Regions from separate parts of the Homo sapiens genome. Here all the other regions are linked to region 2. Evidence: promoter capture Hi-C in 16 types of primary human blood cells and fetal thymus (Javierre and others, 2016). All regions are on one chromosome and are shown on one strand. The core of a region is centred on a gene start or on the middle of the fragment in contact, and the rest is flanking DNA. Distances in the headings are between cores, read along the strand shown. Region 1 overlaps PRODH2 (proline dehydrogenase 2). Region 2 holds the start of ATP4A (ATPase H+/K+ transporting subunit alpha). Region 3 holds the start of LINC01531 (long intergenic non-protein coding RNA 1531).

Region 1 (3,149 bases), core at 195-2,694, 240 kb before region 2:
CTGGCAAGTTTGAGAGCGAAGAAAGAAAGAGAGGGAGGGAGGAAGGAAGGAAGGAAGGAAAGGAAGGAAGGAAGGAAGGAAGAAAGAAATAAAGAAAGAAAGAAAAAAGGGCCAGGTGCTGTAGCTCACACCTGTAATCCCAGCACTTTGGGAGGCTAAGTGGGGCTGGATCACTTGAGGTCAGGAGTTTGAGACCAGCCTGGGCAACATGGTGAAACCCCATCTCTACTAAAAATATAAAACTTATCCAGAAGTGGTGGCACGTGCCTGTAGCCCCAGTTAATCAGGAGGCTGAGGCAGGGGAATCACTTGAACTTGCACCACTGCACTCTTGCCTGGGAGACAGAGTGAGATCTATCTCAAAAAAAAAAAAAAAAGAAGGAAGGAAGGAAGGGAGGGAAGGAGGGAGGGAGGGAGAAAAGAGAGAAAGACCCAGGCTCTGGAAAGGCTGAGGTTTAAACCTCAGGTCTGCCCTGAGTTAGCTGTGTGACTTTTGACAAGTGACTTCCCTGCTCTGTGCCTCAGTTTCCCCATCTAGAAAATGGGGGGATAATAACAGTTGGTACATTAGAGAGTGGTAAATATTAAATGAGTTAAATATTTGGTGGGTGTCTGAAATAGCTCCCTGAGGGCCTAAGACTACGCCCCAAGTCAAGCAGGAGACAATCCTCTGACAGGGGAGGAGGAAACCAGGCTGCTGCCTCCAGGTCTTCCCTTCTCCAGGAGGCAGCATTCTCCCCACCATGCGGAAGGTTGCAGCTTCCAGCCCAACCTGCCTCCAGGTGGGATTCCATGAGCAAGCCCAGGCCTATGTCATCTGTATCGACCCTGTTGGATATAATAAAGCTTTCAGCCCCACCTGTTCCTCTTTCTTCCATTTCCCAACTTCTTTGAACCCAGCCAGACTCCCTGGAGTCACCAGCAGCTCACATTCAGCCAGATGAATCTGCATAAGACTGTGAGTTAGAAACGGTTCTTATTTCCATGTTACAAGCATATCCACTCCCGAAGTGTTTGCTGAACATCTATCTTGTTCCAGACACGGTGCTAGGGGCCGAGGAAGCATGAAGGCAAAATCCCTGACCTCGAGGCACTTACTTGCAAGTCAGGGGCAAGAGACAATAATTAAAACCAAAGTCAGAATCCCAGCACTTTGGAAGGCTGAGGTGGGAGGATCGCTTGAGTCCAGGAGACTGAGACCAGCCTGGGCAACATAGGAAGACCTTGACTCTACAAATAGTAAAGAATTAGCCCGGCATGGTGGTGGGTGCCTGTGGTACTAGGTACTTGGAAGGCTGAAGCAGGAGGATTGCTTGAGCTGGGGAGGTGGAGGCTGCAGTGAGCCATGATCGTGCCACTGCATTCCAGCCTGGGCAACACAGCAAGACCCCGTCTCAGCAAAACAAAAGTCAGTACGTAACAAGTAAGGGAAAATAAGGCTGAGGAAGAGGAAAAGAAGTTGCCAATGTATAGGTGGGAAAACCATGTTGAGAAAGTGACATTAGAGCAAATACTTGAAGGAAACATGGGAGCAGGTAAAGGGCTGGAGGTGGGAAGGTGCCCTCGTGTTCAAAGAGTAGCAGGGAGGGCTGAGCACGGTGGCTCACACCTGTAATCCCAGCACTTTGGGAGGCCGATGTGGGCAGATCACTTGAGGTCAGGAGTTCGAGACCAGCCTGGCCAACATGGTTAAACCCTGTCTCTACTAAAAGTACAAATATTAGCCGGGCATGGTGGCGGGCGCCTGTAATCCCAGCTACTCGGGAGGCTGAAGCAGGAGAATCACTTGAACCCAGGAGGCAGAGGTTGCAGTGAGCTGAGATCATGCCACTGCACTCCAGCCTGGGCAACAGAGCAAGACTCTGTTTCAAAAAACAAACAAACAAAAACTGAGGCCCAGAAAGGTTACATAACTTGCCCAAGGTCACACAGTAGGTGGTGAAGCCTGGATTCGAGCCCTGATTCTAGGCTCATAACCCCCTCAATAAATAGTACCTAACTGATATTGCTCATTTTTAGATTTCTAGCAACTTATAAGCTTTTCCCCACTTCCCCTGCTGCCCCCTAGAACCTCCAGGTCTCCTGCCTCAATGCTGAGCAGAACCAGCACCTCCGGGCCTCCCTCAGCCGCCTGCATCGGGTGGCACAGGTAACCCCTCCTGCTGGAACCAGCACCTCCGGGCCTCCCTCTGCCGCCTGCATTGGGTGGCACAGGTAACCCCTCCTGCTGGAACCAGCACCTCCGGGCCTCCCTCAGCCGCCTGCATCGGGTGGCACAGGTAACCCCTCCTGCTGGGATCTGGCTCCACTGCCCCTGCTGGACACCCGGGGCCCTGACCGTCGTCTCTGTCGCCATCAGTATGCCCGGGCCCAGCACGTGCGGCTCCTGGTGGATGCGGAGTACACCTCACTGAACCCTGCGCTCTCGCTGCTGGTGGCTGCCCTGGCTGTGCGCTGGAACAGCCCGGGTGAAGGCGGGCCCTGGGTGTGGAACACCTACCAGGCCTGTCTAAAGGTGTGCAGTGTGTTCCAGGAGGTACAGGCTGGGGTCCCCACACCCTGACCTACCAGAACCTGCCTGCGTGCCCTATAGGACACATTCGAGCGGCTGGGGAGGGATGCAGAGGCTGCGCACAGGGCCGGCCTGGCCTTCGGAGTGAAGCTGGTACGAGGTGCATATCTGGACAAGGAGAGAGCGGTGGCCCAGCTCCATGGGATGGAAGACCCCACTCAGCCTGACTATGAGGCCACCAGTCAGAGGTAGGCCCGGGCCAGCTGGCCTCTGCAGGAAATAATAACACCTAGTGGTTGGGTGCAGTGGCTCATACCTGTAATCCCAGTGCTTTGGGAGGCTGAGGCTAGAGATTCACTTGAGAGCAGGAGTTGGAGACCAGCCTGGGCAACACAGGGAGACCCCATCTCTAAAAAATTTTAAAAATAGTCAGGTGTGGTAGCACATGCCTGTGGTTCCAGCCACTTAGGAGGCTGAGGTGGGAGGATCACTTGAGGCCAGGAGTTCAAGGCTGCAGTGAGCCATGACTGCACCACTGCACTTCAGCCTGGGCAGCAGAGCGAGAATCTGTCTCAAAACAAACAAACAAACAAACAAACAAACAAAACAAAACAAAAAGAAATCCTTACAGTGGCCT
Region 2 (3,205 bases), core at 126-2,625:
GTCCCTACCTGAGGGATGAGGAGGGAGTCCCCAGGCCTCCTGGCATCTGTCACCCAACACCAAGATCAAGCCAAGACCCTTGGACACATCCTTTCCCCATGTTGCACCTTGGTTTCCCCATCTAGGGTAGGGACGGGGAATGGTTGAGAGCTGTAAAGTCTGTAGCTGGATATGTGAGTCCCTGTGAGCCTCAGTTTCCCCCTCTGCACAACAGGAATGATAGTTCTGCCTGCACAGGGTTTTTTGCAAAGACCCGTGAGGTCACACGTGCAGAGCCTGGCATGTGTGTGGTGCTGCTGCAGTGAAGTTTGGGTTTTTCCATTGGTGGTGCCATAGAAGAGCTAGGCTCTGGGGTCAAGCCCTGGGGTCAAGCCCGGGCTGGAACCCTGTCCCTAATTCTTAGACGTTGAAATCTTCTGCAAAGTCCCTGATGGGGGCTAAGAAGAGAATATTGCTTTACAGGGCTGCTGTTAGATGCTAAGGAAACCATTTGAGTGACACACAGAGCACACCCAGCCCATAGTGAATAGTCAGAGTTCAGTAAACATTCAGCCACCATAGAGAGTGTTGTAAGCATGGCAGGGCATGGTGGCTCACGCCTGTAATCCCAGCACTTTGGGAGGCCAAGGCGGGTGGATCACCTGAGGTCAGGAGTTCGAGACCAGCCTGGCCAACCTGGTGAAACCCCGTCTCTACTAAAAGTACAAAAATTAGCTGGGTGTGGTGGCATGTGCCTGTAGTCCCAGCTACTCAAGAGGCTGAGGCAGGAGAATCACTTGAACCCGGGAGGCGGAGGTTGCAGCGAGCTGAGATTGCACCACTGCACTCCAACCTGGGTGTCAGAGTGACACTCCATCTCAAAAAAAAAAAGAAAAAAAAAAAGAGTGTGGGAGCACCCTCCTCTTCCAGTTGATCAGGCACGTGCTATTTAGACTGAAAGAGGACACTCTGCAGCCAGCTGATCTGGTTCTCACTCCATTATGTCCTAGCCTGTGATGGAGCCATAGGAGAATGACTCAACCCCTCCATGCCTCAGTTTCCCCATCTGTAAAGGGTCTTGTCCCCTCAAAGGGTTATTGGAAGGTTAAATAAGTTAGCACATGGAAGCCGTCAGCACAATGCCCAGCGCATAATGAGCACCTTATGTTTGCTCTTCTTGTTGCTGCAGCGGTTCCCAGGGGCTCCCTGATCTCAGGGCAGGTTGACATGGGGGGATCTGGGCAGGGGAGGGGGGGGCCAGCCCAGGAGGGAATGCCTGAGGTGCCCAGGCCTAGAGGTCACCCCAAGGAGCCTGTAATCAGCTGTGGTCGGGCGGTTCTGCTCCACCCCACCGCCCTCCCTGGGTATATCAGGACTGGTCCGGGCCCAGGCTCTGTTGGGTGGGAGCACAGGCACCGGGCACCATGGGGAAGGCCGTGAGTGGGGCCCAGGGGTCCGGGGTGCAGTGGGGACAGGGGTTGCAGTGGAATCTGAGTTCTCCCTCCCTCCATCCTGTCCATTCCCAGGAGAACTATGAGCTCTACTCGGTGGAGCTGGGTCCTGGCCCTGGCGGGGACATGGCTGCCAAGATGAGCAAGAAGAAGAAGGCGGGTGGCGGGGGTGGCAAGAGGAAGGAGAAGCTGGAGAACATGAAGAAGGAGATGGAGATTGTGAGCTCTGACTGGGGAGGGGCGGGAGCTGGAGGGTAGGCTGGGAACCAGGCAGTGGGCGGGGAGGGGGCCAGGAGAGCCCAGAGCAAGCACCCTGCCCCACCCCACCACACAGAACGACCACCAGCTGTCAGTGGCGGAGCTGGAACAGAAATACCAGACCAGTGCCACCAAGGTGAGCTGGAGACTGGGAGCGTACAGAAAGGGGAGGAGGAGAGAGGGAGGGAGAGGGAGATGGAAGGAGGGAGATGGAGAGAGGGAGAGAGAGGGAGAGATGAAGAGAGGAAGATATGGAGAAATAGAGAGAGGGAGGGAGGCAGAAAAGGAAAGAGGGAGGGAGGGAGAGAGGAAAGGATGGAGGGAGGGGAGGAGAGAGGGAGGGAGATGGAGAGAGGGAGAGAGAGGGAGAGGGAGAGAAGGGAGAAAGCATTAGAGAGAAAGGGTGACACACAGAGACGGAGAGAGGAGTAGCTGAAAAGAGACAGCAAGACAGAGAAGGCAGAGACAAATAAGGAGAGAGCAGCAGGAGAGAGACACATAGAAAGGGGAGCGAGGAGAGAGAGACAAAGGGAGAGATGAAGGAGGGAGGGAGAGATGGGGTGGGGGCAGGAACCAAGAGACAAAGAGATGAGAAGGAGCAGGACAGACCAAGCTGGAGAAGGGAAACTGAAGCAGGGGGCTTTCCACGGGGTGTGCATGTGGAGGAAAGCCCCCAGGACCGCCTCGCCCTGCCCCTCTGTCCCAGGGCCTCTCTGCGAGCCTGGCTGCTGAGCTGCTGCTGCGGGATGGGCCCAACGCACTGCGGCCACCACGGGGCACCCCAGAGTACGTCAAGTTCGCGAGGCAGCTGGCCGGGGGCCTGCAGTGCCTCATGTGGGTTGCCGCCGCCATCTGCCTCATCGCCTTTGCCATCCAGGCTAGTGAGGGGGACCTCACCACCGACGACAATGTGAGCCATGTTGTGGGGACAGGCTCAGGACATGGGGACCTGGGGATGGAAGACACTGAGCCTGGGACTTGGGACAAGAGGGGCAGAGAAGGATGGGGATAGACGAACACGAAAGGCAGTCTCAAGACAGGGGTCATGGAGGGTGAAGGACATTGGGATATGGATGGGGCAGACCCAAGGACACAGGACACAGGGACACTGGGGTGAATCTTGGGTATGGGGACATAGGTGGGGGCATAAAGAGTATGGCAATGTGATACGTAAGAGATGGGATTTGGAGGCCGGGCGTGTAATCCCATGCCTGTAATCCCAGCACTTTGGGAGGCCGAGGCGGGCAGATCACCTGAGGTCAGGAGTTCGAGACCAGCCTGGCCAACATGGCAAAACCCCATCTCTACTAAAATTACAAAAATTAGCCAGACATGGTGGCGGGCACCTGTAATCCCAGTTACTTGGGAGGCTGAGGCAGGAGAATCATTTGAACCCAGGAGGTGGATGTTGCAGTGAGCCAAGACCATGCCACTGCACTCCAGCCTGGGCGACAGAGCGAGACTGCATCTTAAAAAAAAAAAAAAAAAAAAAAAAAAGAGATGGGACTTGGAAGCAG
Region 3 (2,959 bases), core at 411-2,910, 160 kb after region 2:
TGGGCAACACAGTGAGAGCCTTTCTCTACAAAACGTTAAGAAATTAGCTGGGCATGGCGGTGTGCACCTGTAGTCCTCGTTACTCTGGAGGCTGAGGCAGGAGGATCACTTGAGCCCAGGGGCTTCAAGGTTACAGTGAACCATGGTGGCACCACTGCAAACCAGCCTGGGCGACAGAACAAGACCCTGTCTCAAAAAAAAAAAAGTTTAAAAATGAATAAAATAATGAGGCCTTAACCTATGACAGATAGCATATCACCTGCTGGCCCATCTGTACATCTCATTCTGCATTCGAGAACTTCAGAAGTAGAGGACCAGATGAATGGGAGTGGCCCTGCCGCCACGGGGCTGAGCTCCACCGCTTTTGTCCTGCTCCTCCTCGCCAGGCCCTGACCATCTCTCCACTGACTTGTCCTGGCCCCTTTTCCATTTCTGTGGCCTCTTCCCTCTCCTCCTTGGAGAGTAGCCTGTCCTCTGCTCCCTGCATGCTCTCCTTCCATCCCGTCTCTTCCTGGGGTTATGATCCCAGCAACCTCTTCCCTGAGCCCAGGCGAGGTCAGGTCCCTTGCCTTTTCCTGCAGGTAGATGGGTGGGTTTTCAAAGATGTCTGGTTTCAGAAGCCGGTGGCATCTTGTCTAACTGGACCACCTTTTCCTTTTCCACCAACGGCAGGCTTTTATACCTGGAAGAGTCATGTGGTCAAAAAGAGGAAAGTCAGTGGTTGAGCTCTTTCTAAAGCAGCTTGACCTTCTGGGTCTCCCACCAGATTTTGTCCCCAACAGACTTATTTCACCCAGAGTCCAATTTTTTTTTTTTTGAGGCAGAGTCTTGCTCTATCACCCAGGCTGGAGTTTAGTGGTGCGATCTCAGCTCACTGCAACCTCTGCCTCCCTAGTTCAAGTGATTCTCCTACCCCAGCCTTCCAAGTAGTGGGATTACAGGTGTGCAACACCACGCCCGACTAATTTTTGTATTTTTTGTAGACAGGGTTTCACCATGTTGGCCAGGCTAGTCTCGAACTCCGAACCTCAAGTGATCCGCCTGCCTTGCCTCCCAAAGTGCTGGGATTACAGGCGTGAGCCACTGTGCTCAGCCCAGAATCCAAATTTGAACAGTTTTTTCAGGCTTCCTCCTCCCCCTACATTCCAAGAGGTTGAATTCTGTTTCCTTCCCATGGGCAATTATCCCACACGACTACACGCACATCCATCTCTCACTTCCGCTTTTTCTTTCTTTCTTTCTTATTTTGTTGTTGTTGTTTTGAGACAGGGTCCCACTCTGTTGCCCAGGCTAGAGTTCAGTGGTGCAATCGCGGCCCACTGCAGCCTTCACCTTTCGGGCTCAAGTGATCCTCACACCTCAGCCTCCCGAGAAGCTGGGCCACAGGTGCACGCCACTGCATCTGGCTAATTTTTTGTATTTTTGGCAGAGACGGGGTTTCACCATGTTACCAAGAGTTGTCGAACTCTTGAGCTCAGGCAGTCCACCCGCTTTGGCCTCCCAAAGTGCTAGGATTACAAGTGTGAGCCACCATGCCCAGCCCCAAGTTTGTTTTTAGAAAAAAAAACCTAGCATTGTCCCTTGCCTATAACAGACACTCAAATCCTTGTGGAATGTAAGGATGGAGGTTGGATGTGCCTGTGAATACTTGCTAGCTGATGACACAAGCAAAGAATGTGTCAGAACCTGCGCCTTTTGTCTCCTGTCCTTTATCTGCATTCTGTTGCCCGGGTTACTGGTATGGGGACATCTTTGGTGCTGAGGTCTAGGTTCCAATGAGTCAAAGGGAGAATTCAAACTAAGTTGTCTGGCAGCACCCCAAGACTGTGCTGACCTCACACACAGCTGTATCACGGGAGTGGGCAGTGCATCATCTCAAATCCAACTCAACTGAGCAATGGTTCGGGCTGAGTCACACCATGTATGAATCGGGGGGCGGGGGTATGTGGCTCCTCTCCAACAAGCCACACTGTCTGCTTCCCTGTCACAAAACACATGGAGCCGTTACTCTGTGTGAGGTACTGTTCTAGGAGCTGGAGACAAGAGTGAACAGGATGAACAGAAAACAAGTAGACAAACCAACAAGGCAATTTTACAGGAAGAAAGGAAGTAGGCCAGGCAAGGTGGCTCACGTCTGTGATCTCAACGCTTTGGGAGGCCCAGGCAGGAGGACTGCTTGAGGCCAGGAGTTCAAAACCAGCCTGGTCAACATAGCGATACCCCGTCTCTACAAAAAGTGAGATAAAAAGTCAGGCATGGTGGCTCACACCTATAATCCCAGCTACTTAGGAGGCTGAGGCAGGAGGAGGATTGCTTAAGGCTGGGTGTTTGAGACCAGCCTGGGCAACATAGTGAGATCCCCTGTCTCTACAAAAAAGGATAAAAATAAAAAATTAGCCAGGCATGGTGGTGCACACCTGTAGTCCTAGATACTCAGGAGGCTGAGGCGGGAGGATCACTTGAGCCTAGGAGTTGGAAATTAAAATGAACTATGATGGCACCACTCCAATCCAGTGGTCCTGTCTGGGGGAAAAAAAAGGGAAAGAAAATAAATCGGCTAGGCGTGGTGGGGTTCATGCCTGTAACCCCAGCACTTTGGGAAGCTGAGGCGGGCACATCACTTGAGGTCAGGAGTTTGAGACCAGCCTGGCCAACATGGTGAAACTCTGTCTCTACTAAAAATACAAAAATTAGCCAGGTATGGTGGCGGGCACTGGTAATCCCAGCTACTCAGGAGACTGGGGCAGGAGAATCACCTTAACCTGGGAGGCAGAGATTGCAGTCAGCCGAGATCATGCCACTGCACTCCAGCCTGGGCGACAGAGGAAGACTCTGCCTCAAAAAAAAAAAAAAAAAAGGACCAAAAATCAAACAACAACAACAACAACAACAAAAAGCAAGCAGGGAAATTGAGAGAGAGAGAGAGAGAGATGGGCAGGGCCTGTCAGGAAAGGCCTGG

Evidence for each region. The method cuts DNA at HindIII sites, captures the fragments that hold promoters and counts their contacts. A CHiCAGO score of 5 or more calls a contact.
Region 1: a contact is called between a fragment that was not itself captured here and the fragment with the promoter of ATP4A in region 2, in 3 of 17 cell types (M2 macrophages, megakaryocytes and M0 macrophages). The highest score is 7.3, in M2 macrophages.
Region 3: the fragment with the promoter of LINC01531 here is called in contact with the fragment with the promoter of ATP4A in region 2 in 17 of 17 cell types (neutrophils, M1 macrophages, M0 macrophages and 14 more); the score reaches 15.5 in neutrophils.

What each region holds. Positions count from the first base shown.
Region 1 is chr19:35,806,041-35,809,189 of GRCh38, reverse strand. PRODH2 (proline dehydrogenase 2) reads left to right here. Exons shown (of 10, transcript NM_021232.2): 5 at 2,069-2,149; 6 at 2,360-2,515; 7 at 2,594-2,760. Among named protein-coding and RNA genes, the nearest start is that of PRODH2, 5.2 kb to the left of the region's middle. RefSeq lists an enhancer at 1,757-2,257. The HindIII fragment of the contact is 1,192 bases long and covers 849-2,040 here.
Region 2 is chr19:35,561,828-35,565,032 of GRCh38, reverse strand. ATP4A (ATPase H+/K+ transporting subunit alpha) reads left to right here and starts at 1,375. Exons shown (of 22, transcript NM_000704.3): 1 at 1,375-1,415; 2 at 1,506-1,649; 3 at 1,765-1,824; 4 at 2,395-2,598. The coding sequence starts at 1,404. RefSeq lists an enhancer at 1-220. The HindIII fragment of the contact is 9,853 bases long and covers 1-3,205 here.
Region 3 is chr19:35,404,308-35,407,266 of GRCh38, reverse strand. LINC01531 (long intergenic non-protein coding RNA 1531) reads right to left here and starts at 1,660. Exons shown (of 5, transcript NR_040046.1): 1 at 1,586-1,660; 2 at 1-682. The HindIII fragment of the contact is 14,783 bases long and covers 1-2,959 here.